Linked DNA regions of Homo sapiens: region 1 is linked to region 2. Evidence: promoter capture Hi-C in 16 types of primary human blood cells and fetal thymus (Javierre and others, 2016). All regions are on one chromosome and are shown on one strand. The core of a region is centred on a gene start or on the middle of the fragment in contact, and the rest is flanking DNA. Distances in the headings are between cores, read along the strand shown. Region 1 overlaps NHEJ1 (non-homologous end joining factor 1). Region 2 holds the start of CFAP65 (cilia and flagella associated protein 65).

What was found. Contacts are between HindIII fragments. The CHiCAGO score rates a contact against its expected background, and 5 or more counts as called.
Region 1: a fragment that was not itself captured here is called in contact with the fragment with the promoter of CFAP65 in region 2 in 2 of 17 cell types (total CD8 T cells and erythroblasts); the score reaches 5.2 in total CD8 T cells.

What each region holds. Positions count from the first base shown.
Region 1 is chr2:219,140,817-219,146,010 of GRCh38, forward strand. All of the region lies in intron 5 of NHEJ1 (non-homologous end joining factor 1), which reads right to left. Among named protein-coding and RNA genes, the nearest start is that of NHEJ1, 17 kb to the right of the region's middle. The HindIII fragment of the contact is 4,364 bases long and covers 1,084-5,194 here.
Region 2 is chr2:219,038,695-219,044,502 of GRCh38, forward strand. It overlaps CFAP65 (cilia and flagella associated protein 65), which reads right to left and starts at 2,822. Exons shown (of 35, transcript NM_194302.4): 1 at 2,794-2,822; 2 at 1,825-1,870; 3 at 202-356. The coding sequence starts at 354. The HindIII fragment of the contact is 30,940 bases long and covers 1-4,933 here.

The sequences.
Region 1 (5,194 bases), core at 2,016-4,515, 100 kb after region 2:
TGGTATTTAAAGATGTTATAGTGGAATGCCAGAGGAGCAGGCTGAAGATGTCAAAAGGATCAAATCATAAATGATCACGTGTGGCGTGCAAGGAGTTTGAACTTTATCCTGTAGGAAACCGGGAGCCACTAAAGGACTCTGAGCAAAAAGTGTCATAATCAAGTTTCAGTTTCAAAGACATCACTCTGACAAAACTACAAATTCAACTGCAGGGGAATAAGAACTGACCAGGAGACAAGTTAGGAGGCTGTTGCATGGTCAAGCCAAAAAAGGGACAGAAAGGCCAGGAACAGTGGCTCACACCTGTAATCCCAAAACTTTGGGAGGCCAAGGCAGGTGGATCACCTGAGGTCAGGAGTTCAAGACCAGCCTGGCCAACATGGTGAAACTCCATCTCTACAAAAAATACAAAAATTAGCTGGGCGTGGTGGCTCAAGCCTGTAGTCCCAGCTACTCAGGAGGCTGGGGCATGAGAATCTCTTGAACCCAGGAGGCAGAGGTTACAGTGAGCCGAGATTGTGCCACTGCACTCTAGCCTGGGCAACAGAGTGAGACTTGGTCTCAAAAAAAAAAAGCAGGGGGGGAGTGGGGGAAAAGGGAGAGAAAAATGGCTAATTTCAGACAACGGGAGGTAGAATAGAGAAGATAGGCAGATTCAAAAGACGGTCAATAAATTAGGCTTTGAAAGTAAGGACAAAGAGGAAAGTGAGTGACTCCCAAATTTCTAGCTTAGAAAACTGAATGGATGATGGTATAATTCCCCAAGATAAGGAATATAAGAGAAATAGTCTGGGGGAGTAGATAATTCATTTTGGACATGTTTAGGATGTGCTTTATGTGGGACATCCAGGTGGAAATGCCAAACATGCAGAAAGAAATATGGGCCTAAAACACAGTGGAGATATAAAATTGGTATTCAGCGATGTACCAACAATAGTTGACACTGGGGTCTAGATGAGATGACCCAGAGGAAGGAAAGTGAAGTCTCAGAGGATCAGGGACCTGATCCTGGGAAACACTAACCTTTAAGAGGCAGGCAGAAGACGGAGAGCCAGCCAAAGAAACCAATTAGAAGTGTGAACAAGCTTAACAAGATGGCAATTTTCAAGTTAAAGCATTGCCCATCTTCCCCAGGCGATATAAGCTCTAGCTTCGTAAGAGCAGCAGTGACTCTCTTCATAGTTTAAAGTATCTGCTCTAGAATCAGGCTGCAACCAGACAGGAGCTGAAGACAGTAACTAAAACTAGGCAGAATATAACAACCATGGCTGCACTTAGGATGCTAAGTCAAATCAATGTTAACTATAGCCCCCTAATTTCTTAGCTAAGGTATTATACTGAACAGATTAAGACTTATAAGGCATTCAGAATGCAGCAGTAAGAACGACTGCAGGGAAGAGAAGAGAAGAGAAGAGGAGAGAAGAGTAGAGAATTGCAAAATCTCCATCTCTGCTAAGGGACCCCTACCAAAGGAAGCCAACTTCAAGCAACTGCCCAGGTTTTGGTGTCAAGGGCTGATTCCTAGCCAGGGGTTGCCAGCTGTAGAGGGCGGGGCTCTATTTTGGGCTGCCTGCTGTCCCTGAGCCTGGCCGCGTCTGGTTTGAGCAGCATGCAGCCCCAGTGACTCACACACCCATGCAAACTGCCTGTGGCTCAGTGGCATGGCCTTGGAATGCCAGCCTTAGGCCAGCTCCCTCCTCACCCCATTACACTGGGATAAATAAATAAAGAGCCCGCCAGCAGCCACACAGCCTGATGGCAACCAGATGGAGAGAGCGAGGCATGGACAGGGCCAGGGGAAGGAACTCCCTCCAGTGGACTAGACTGAGAGTGGGCTCTGCCCAGTCATCCTAAACTTCCTTTTTCATATAGTTCCTACTGCCGTGTAACAACAGTCCCTAAGTCCCTGACTCTTCTTTCACTCCTAAAGATGCCTCTCAACCCCCAGTCCTACAAAATGCCCTATATAGGGTTCTTGGCCTCCATGAAGATCATGCCAACAGGCATCCCACCCAGGCTTGACTTGAGTCAATATTGTCAGTATCACCCTCTAGTTAGGCCACTATCAACTGGCTCCTTGGGTTCCCCAGAATTGAGAAATCAGAGGCTCTTAGACAGAGTGGAAAAACAAAAGGACCAAATAGGGAGAAGTAACCCCTGTTCAATTCTTATTTTCCCGAGCCTTAGTATCCTAGCCACCTGCCTGGCCTACTGTCCCCTGTGCCTTATTGTCTATAGCCTCTTGCCTAGTAATAATCCCAATGAGAATTTTAAAAACTGACCCCAGGCAATGACCGCATGGCCCTCTGACACCAGCCCTGGCCCCCCTGCGCCTTCATCTTGAGCTCTCTCCCTGGTTTGTTTATCTTCCTATTCCATCTTGCTTATTTTGATGGCACATCCTTTCAGTTCAGTCTTGGGTGACCCCATGACCCTTCTGTGTCCTGTTTGTAGGACCCCGGGCAAGCAGAGTAACTAAAAAGATGCAGTAGTCATAAGAAGTTCTACAGCCCCAGTAGGAAACCTTTCAGTTCCAGCAGCTATACAGGACATTCTGAGGACAGTGCAATGACCCCAGAGGTCACAAGAATTCCATATTACCCCAGCCCTTATGTCTCCCCTAACAGGTGTGTACAACCAGTTAAACTAGCAAAACAAAACAGGGATAATCCTAGACTATGTGTCAAGAAATGTGAGAAGTCCTAAACATAAAGCTACAGCTATATGACCTTAGGCAAGTCACTTAACCTCTCTGAGGCTCAACTTCTTCATCTATAAAATAGAAAGCTGTAACTACAACTACCTATCTCTCACTTCCTTTCCAGATATAATAAAATTCTACAAGTCTATGAGGTTGATCCACCCAGAACCTACAGGACCAGTATTCTTGAAGTAGCTGGTTCCAAAACACTGATACTCTTCCTGTGCTGCCACCTAAATTCTGTATGCTTTCTCATTCAATTCCGCAGGGCTCCTCCCAACCCCATAGTATGAAAACGATGAGCCTCTAATTTTATAAATGAGAAGTGATTTATCCAAAGCTGCAAAATGAGCCATGAGAATAACTGAAGACCCCAAATATAGGTCTAATAAGCAACACTGAGCCAGGTGCAGTGGCTCACGCCTGTAATCTCAGCACTTTGAAAGGCCAAGGTGGGCGGACCACATGAGGCCAGGCATTCAAAACCAGCCTGGCCAACATGGTAAAACCCTGTCTCTACTAAAACTACAAAAATTAGCCAGGTGTGGTGGTGCATACCTGTAATCCCAGCTACTCAGGAGGCTGAGGCACAAGAATCTCTTGAACCCGGGAGGCAGAGATTACAGTGAGCCGAGATCACCCCACTGCACTCCAGCCAAAAAAAAGCAACACTGTATCCACAGGCCACAGTGTCATAATCTGTATAAAATCCCCCTAGCATAGACTTATCAAAATATTAATCCAAACTTATTGAAGACTTACTACCTGTAGGCACCACGCACAGTGCTGGGGATATAGAAATGCATTCAGCATGGTCCTTGCCTCAAAGAGTCCACAGATCAGTGGAGGAGAAAGCCATAGTCTTGCAGGCATACAAACAGTAATATTACAATGTTATAAGTGGTAAAACAGAGGTATAATCCAAGGTACTATAGTAGCAGGGAAGAAGAATAGTCTTTACAAGCAGAGTACAGAACGGTCTCCCAAACAAGGTGAAGCTGACATCTAGAAGATTAATAGAAGTTTGCAAGTTAGATAAGGCCAGAACATTGGACATTCTAGATCATGGGAAGAATGTGTATCTAAAGACAAGATGAAACAGCATTGGGGCAAATTAAAAGTCATTCCATATAGCTAAGGCATAAAGTACACAGAGAAAAATGTCAAGAAGTCAAGCTGGAGAGGTATGCAGGCACTAGATCAGGAAGAGACCTCTCTACTGAGCTAAGAACAAGCCTTGCATTGTTTAACTAAGGGGATGAGGCAGGGAACCAGCATGTTATCCCCAGCCTTGATACCTAAACTTATAGACAGGGGAAGCTATCTAAGAGAAAAACGGCCTAAGAAATCTCTCTTAGTCACAAGTTTAGGTTTAACGGTCTCTCTTTACCCATAAAAACTTGAAACCTTTTCTAGGCTAGGCATGGTGGCTCACATCTATAATCCCAGTACTTTGGGAGGTCAAGGAGGGTGGATCACTTGAGGCCAGGAGTTCAAGACCAGCCTGATCAACATGGCGAAACCCCGTTTCTACTAAAAATACAAAAATTAGCTGGGTGTGGTGGTGCGCACCTGTAATCCCAGCTACTTGGAAGGCTGAGGCAGGAGAATTGCTTGAACCTGGGAAAGGGATGTTGCAGTGAGCCAAGATTGTGCCATGGCACTCCAGTCTGGGTGACAGAGCAAGTGAGGCTTCGTTTCAAAAACAACAACAACAACAACAACAACAACAAAAAGACTTGAAACCTTTTCTCTTTCAGGACTTAGCAATACAAGTTTTCCTTCTTCTTCAGACTTACAATTGCTTCAGTACCTGGACTGAGCACCTACCTCACATTTTTTGCTTTTAGTGTTTAGACCCCAAGCATTGTAGCTCAGTCAATGCACAGAGGCAGAACAGGAGGTTCCAAATAAAGAATACCTGCTTTATGCCTAGCCCTTTAAAAAGTGCTAATTTAGGGTTCAAAAGAGGTACGGGACACAGACCCTGTCCACAAAGAGCTTACAAATTAATCTAGAAGACAATAAAGAAATACAAATAATCTATACATAATACCAGATTATAATAGCATTATTTACTTACATGATAAAGTACCAACTTGGGTAACATATATAATTAGAAAATGGGGCAATAGGCCGGGCGCAGTGGCTCACACTTGTAATCCCAGCACTTTGGGAGGCCGAGGTGGGTGGTCACCTGAGGTCGGGAGTTCCAGACCAGCCTGACCAACATGGAGAAATCCCATCTCTACTAAAAATACAAAATTAGCTGGGTGTGGTGGCACATGCCTGTAATCCCAGCTACTCAGGAGGTTGAGGCAGGATAATCGCTTGAACCCGGGAGGCGGAGGTTGCTGTGAGCCGAGATCGCACCATTGCACTCCAGCCTGGACAACAAGAGTGAAACTCCATCTCAAAAAAAAATAAAAAAAAAAAAAAGAAAATGGGGCAATAATACTAAGGTACTAACTGTACAACCAACAAGTCACAGAA
Region 2 (5,808 bases), core at 1,572-4,071:
CAACAGGTGCTACCTGGCACCATGAGGAATGAGGCTGTACACGAGATCCAGGGCTTTGCCTGGGAGCCCAGGGACTCACCCTCAGGGAAGGCACTCCAAAGAGGGACTTGGGGACAAGGCCCACCCCACTAGGCCCCTCCATGGCCACACTTGGCACTGCTCAGCAAGCTCCAGTGGGTGTTACTGAAGTGTGTGCATTACCTTTATCTGGCTTTTACTCTCTGCTTGTTTCTTCTGAACACTCTTGCCTCTTAGGAGAAGAGGAATAAGGGGGAAAGAAGAGGCAAATGAGACTGATGGATTCTCCACCTTCTGGGTTTTCTCCACCAGTCTACAACCGGTTAAGGTAAACATCACTGAAATAAATCAATCAAAGCATAAGTCAATCCATCTCCAGAGCAGAGGGATCCTCGATGACTGTAGCTGAAATCATATGCAAATATATGTGGCACATATATTTGTATATATGCCAGATGCTATGTATATGCCAGATGCTATGTATGCATACATGTCTGTTTTCCAGGAGGAATGGCCACAGTTTTCACCAAATGCTCAAGAGGATGCTTGACCTCAATCTAAGGCACACAAAGTATCTCAGACTAGCTCTGGCTCCCTCACCTCGAATCCCCTCTTCCTTTAGCTGGCTTCTTTTAGCACACACACTCAAGTGTGACTTTGTTACCTCGACAAAAGGACAGCAATTTTCACACTCACACACCAAGACTAAGCCAGCCCCACTCAGGCACATGTGGAAGTGGTTTGCAGATCCCTATAATGACTTACCTCAAATGGTTCATCTCTGATTTCCCTTTACACTTGACATGAAGCCATCATGCATGAAATCATAGAACATGGCACTGCCCCCCAAAATATAATGCAATCCACATGTGTACTTTAAAACATTCTGGTAGCCACATTAAAAAAGTAAAAAGACACAGGTAAAATTAATTATAATGATATATTTTATTTAACCCATCATATCAAAAATACTACATTGAATATGTAATCGATATGAAATTATTGAGGTACTTTACTTTCTTATTTTGTATTAAGACTTTGAAATCTGGTGTGCATTTTACATTTACAGCACATCTCAATTTGGACTACCCATATTTTCAGTGCTGAATAGCTACATATGGCTATTGGCTACCACATTGGACAGCATCACTTTAATACCTTTTTTGAACATATGTTTATTTTTCAGACTACTCAGTATCCTCCCTCACTTCTTCAAATAACAATCTCAAAAATAATAATGTCTATTAACATGTACTGAGAATCCACGTGCCAGGCAGTGTTGTAAAGTCCTTAGAGGGATTTTATTTATTTATTTATTTATTTATTTATTTATTTATTTAAGACAGACTCTCATTCTGTTGCCCAGGCTGGAGTGCAGTGGCAAGATCTTGGCTCACTGCAACCTCCACCTCCCAGGTTCAAGCAATTCTCCCTTACAGGTATTTTAATTCTTACAACAGTTTATGATTACGTGTGACTTGCCCATTTATTTGGCCTAAAATGATCCTTTTTCAAGTTTGTCGTTTAGTTCCTTATTTTAATGTGTTCAGATTTAGCAAACAATTTCATGATCACCCTTTAGGAATTTATACAGTTCCATCAGACACTCTCTTATCCCTCCCCCACCACCCACCAACACCCTTCCAAAGCGGAAGATTCTGTTGACCCTGGTTTTCCTAGTTGGCAACATGTCTAAACCCTCTGGAGGGGACTATCTAGATTCAGTCGTTCGTTCATTCACAAAGCACTTACTATTATGTACCAGGTACTGTGCTAGGCACCAGACAAGGCAGGCAAGGCTCCTACCTCCAATTGTGAACTGGACGTTCAGATGAAATCAAAGAAATGTAAGCTGAGGAGACACAGAGAGAGTCCATTACTTTTCTGCCACGGGATGGTCTTGCAGCCCTGTCCTGACTCATTAATGCCTCTGACCTCAGGGGACTGTACAGACAGCTCCTGCCTCAGAGCTCTGAAAAAGTCTCCACTCAACACATGAAACTATTCCAGAGAGTGCATGGAAGAGATGAGAGATGATGGGGTAGAAAGCTGGTCCAACACAGGTCATAGGGCTAGGGAAGTGGTCCCAGGGCAAGGGACGCTGGGTGCCAGCATCTTCTCAGACTCTACGGGGATAGGCAAATTTCTCCATCTCCCGGAGCCTCAGCCTCCTCGCCTGTAAAATGTGGGTTATCCTGACGATTTCACAAAGTCGATGTGCAGCTCGAATGAAACAGAGGATTTGAAAAAGCACTAAACAAACACGTTATAGTAATTAACAACCATAACTTTCCCACTAGCCTGCACTATTCTTCCAAAAGACTCACACATCTGCAGTCGTTGTGAAGAGACTGGGCAAGCGAGGTTTTTTGTTTTGTTTTGGATTTGTTTTGTTTTAAATTGAAGTTTCCAATTTCGAGGACTTTAAAAAATATATATCATGAGCTTCCTTTATTTGCCTAATTGCTGATCTAAAAATCTCCAAGATGACCACTAGAAAAAGTGGCAGGTCGTCGTATAGAGTCGAGGGAGAAAGAAATAGATGAAACAAAGGGGGACAAAATACACTTAGAGCTGTTTCTTCTTTCTCTTCGGGATCCTTAGTCTGATTGATCTCGCCCAAGACTCAGTCCCATGGGGCTCTCTGAAGGGCATGGAGGGGACCTCTGGCCACGATTTCCCGAAGGATAGGGTCTCCCGGGACAGATACCTTCCCTGGCCACTCGCGCCGCTCCCTGAGACCCTGGGACCTTGGGACTAACGCTCAGAACTTACATCGCCTCCATATTGCCGTCTCCATAGATACAGGACGCGCAGGAAACGGCGTCTTCAGATATCCCAGGGCAACGACGGCAGCCCGAGTAAGTCAAGATTCGTAGAAGGCGAAGGCACCGCCCAATTTTATTTCCTATATTCAGTTTTGATTCCCTGACTTTTCCTGCTGGTAGTAACTGTGGGCTTCTACCTGTCGCGACATGGTAATGTAGAGCCTCCTAGTTGTCGTGACGTTCCAGCAATCATGACTTTAATTGACGACCAAATTCACAGGAAGCTACTCTGTGGGCTTGGCACTCTGACATGCATAGAGACAGAAGCTCATTCTCTGTGATTGCAATTGTTAACTTAAAAGCAGCCCGCAGTTATTTCTTATTTGAATATTGCTTTGCAAATAGAACCCTTTTGCTGATGAGAGGGAATGCGTCCTCTGCGTTTTCTCCCGGCATTTCTTCTTGGTCAGCAACAAGAAAAATAACTCTTTTGAAGGGATCGGAAGGTTAATGTATAAAGGAATTATTATACATAATGTAGACTTTCGGAAGCCCATTGGTTCATTTGTTGGTATGTGTGTTGGAGGAAGGGTCCTATTTTGTGAAGACTCCTTAGTAGGTGAAGCTGAAAGTCTCAAAGTTCACTCTTGGGTAACTAAGGATGTTTTGCTCCTCAAGACAGTGAACCTATTTCCTTTCAGATGGAAGGGGGGATGTGACTAGGGGGAGAGAGCTTAGTGAGTCTAGGGGTAAACACAGAAAATAAGCTATCATTTTGGGAGAGTTGGAGTTGACTTGTGAAAGGTGAAAGATGGACTGAGATGGCAAAGTGGCCTGAGCTGGCCTGGGAGATCACATGGCCAGAGACTGGCAGGGCTGGAGGGAAGGGGCAGGCAGGGCGCCTGGTAAATTACGCCAGCAGGATCAAGAGTTTTCCGGGAATCAAAGAATGTGGAACTCAGTGAGCTTTTCCCTGGATTTAATGGGATTCTCAGAATCTGAAACCTGCACTTTGGACATGACGACTTTTATGCTGTTTGTAGTTTCTATAATTATTTCCTTTTTGTTTTTCCCCAAATTCTTTTTGAAATGGTCAGCCTAACTCAGCTGGACCTTAAGGACAAGGAAAGGAACTGGTTCATTCTTAGGCGAAAATGAAATAGGGACTTTGGGGGCAGGGTTTGGTGTTGGCCCCAGGAATCTCAGTGGGAAAACTCCAAGGAGGAAGCACAGCTCATGCTAAAGGCGTCCTCGTGCCTCTTCACCGGGGAGTCTCCTTCCTGAGCTCTTGCCTGCTCAATGGTGGATTCTGGGTTTGGAAAAATTAAAGGGAATGGTTCCTCCTCTTAGCAGGGCCCCTGTAGCCTCTGCTTCTGTAAGCGTCTAGCTGCCTCCTAGAAGCCCTGATGCCTAGTGACCACAGCTGACATCAGTGGACTCCCAGGGAGAAGCCTGTGTGCTGGACTTTGCCCAGGGAGGCACACACATGGAAAGAGCCTTCACAAGGGATTGAGCCTGAGGAGGGAAAAGAGGAAGCTGAGTTTGCTTTGAAACTCTCCCTTTCCAGGAGCCTAGAACCAGTGGAATAATGGGTCCTGGGACCTGTTGATCATATTTTCCCTGGACCCAAAAATAGATCATGGGAGAGGCAGCCAAGTGCGGTGGCTCACACCTGTAATGCCCACTCTTTGGGAGGTGGAGGCTAGTGGATCAGGAGTTTGGTCAGGAGTTCAAGACCAGCCTGACCAACAGGGTGAAACCGTGCCTCTACTAAAAACATAAACATTAGTCGGGCATGGTGGCTCATGCCTGTAATCCCAGTTACTCGAGAGGCTGAGGCAAGATAATTGCTCTAACCTGGGAGGCAGAGGTCGCAGTAAGCTGAGATCGCACCACTGCACTCCAGCCTGGGTGACAGAGCGAAACTCTATCTTAAAAAAAAAAAAAATCACTGGGGAGGGTTTGCTGTTTGGTTCAAGGCTGGGTGACAATACAGAAAATTGATTATCAGGATGTAGGAGAAGGGAGGAAGGATGGAAGGGAGACGGCCTCAGATCCTCCTGGCCTGGAAGCTGGTGTGAGGAATAATAAAGGTAAAAGCACACTCCATGATTTGAACTTCGACACACATACAAATACCTTTTCTAAGCTTCTTTTTCCCAGATATCTTCCCACACCTCTATGCCCCCCATCATATAGAGAAGACCCAGGGCTGGGAAATCAGGCAGACCTGAGATTAATCCCAACTCTATTACCAACTGCCTGTGTGACCTTGGGCAAGTCACATGACCTCTCTGAGCTTCAGTTTCCTCATCTGTTACCTGGGGATAATTCTCAAAAGGCAGGTGGGAAAATTGGGTGATAAGGTATGTGTAAAGTACTTGACACATGGTAGGCAATCAACAAAACCTCTCTCTCTCTCTCACACACACACACACATACACACACACACACACACACACACACACACACACACACACACACACAGAATATTCACTAAATGGGAGGTCTCTGTAAGTAAGCCACTCAGCCTTCTGCGCACTTGCGCCTCCTACAAGCATCCAGCCTCTTGGCTGCATGCTGGAGAAGTGGGAAGTTTTTGCCATCTCCATGTCCTCCTCCTTTGTTTCTCCAAGAAGGAGCCTACCTTGCTGCTCTGGGTGGAAAAAGACAAAAGGAGACACCAGGGTGCCTGGCTATCCAGTTACAAGTCCACCCAGATCCAGCACTTAGAAAGCCCTCTCTTGCCTTTCTCCATCCTGAGATTCTGACTCCATTTTGAGTGTTGGTTCTGGAATCAGTTTGCGTTCAAGTTTGTACTTGAGGGATAGAGGTGAAAAGGTGGGCTCTCCCCACAAAAAAAGATGAGTTCATGTCCTTTGCAGGGACATGGATGAAGCTGGAAACCATCATTATAAGCAAACTATCACAAGGACAGAAAACCAAACACTGCATGTTCTCACTCATAGGTGGGAGTTGAACAATGAGAACACATGGACACAGTGGGGGGAACATCACACAC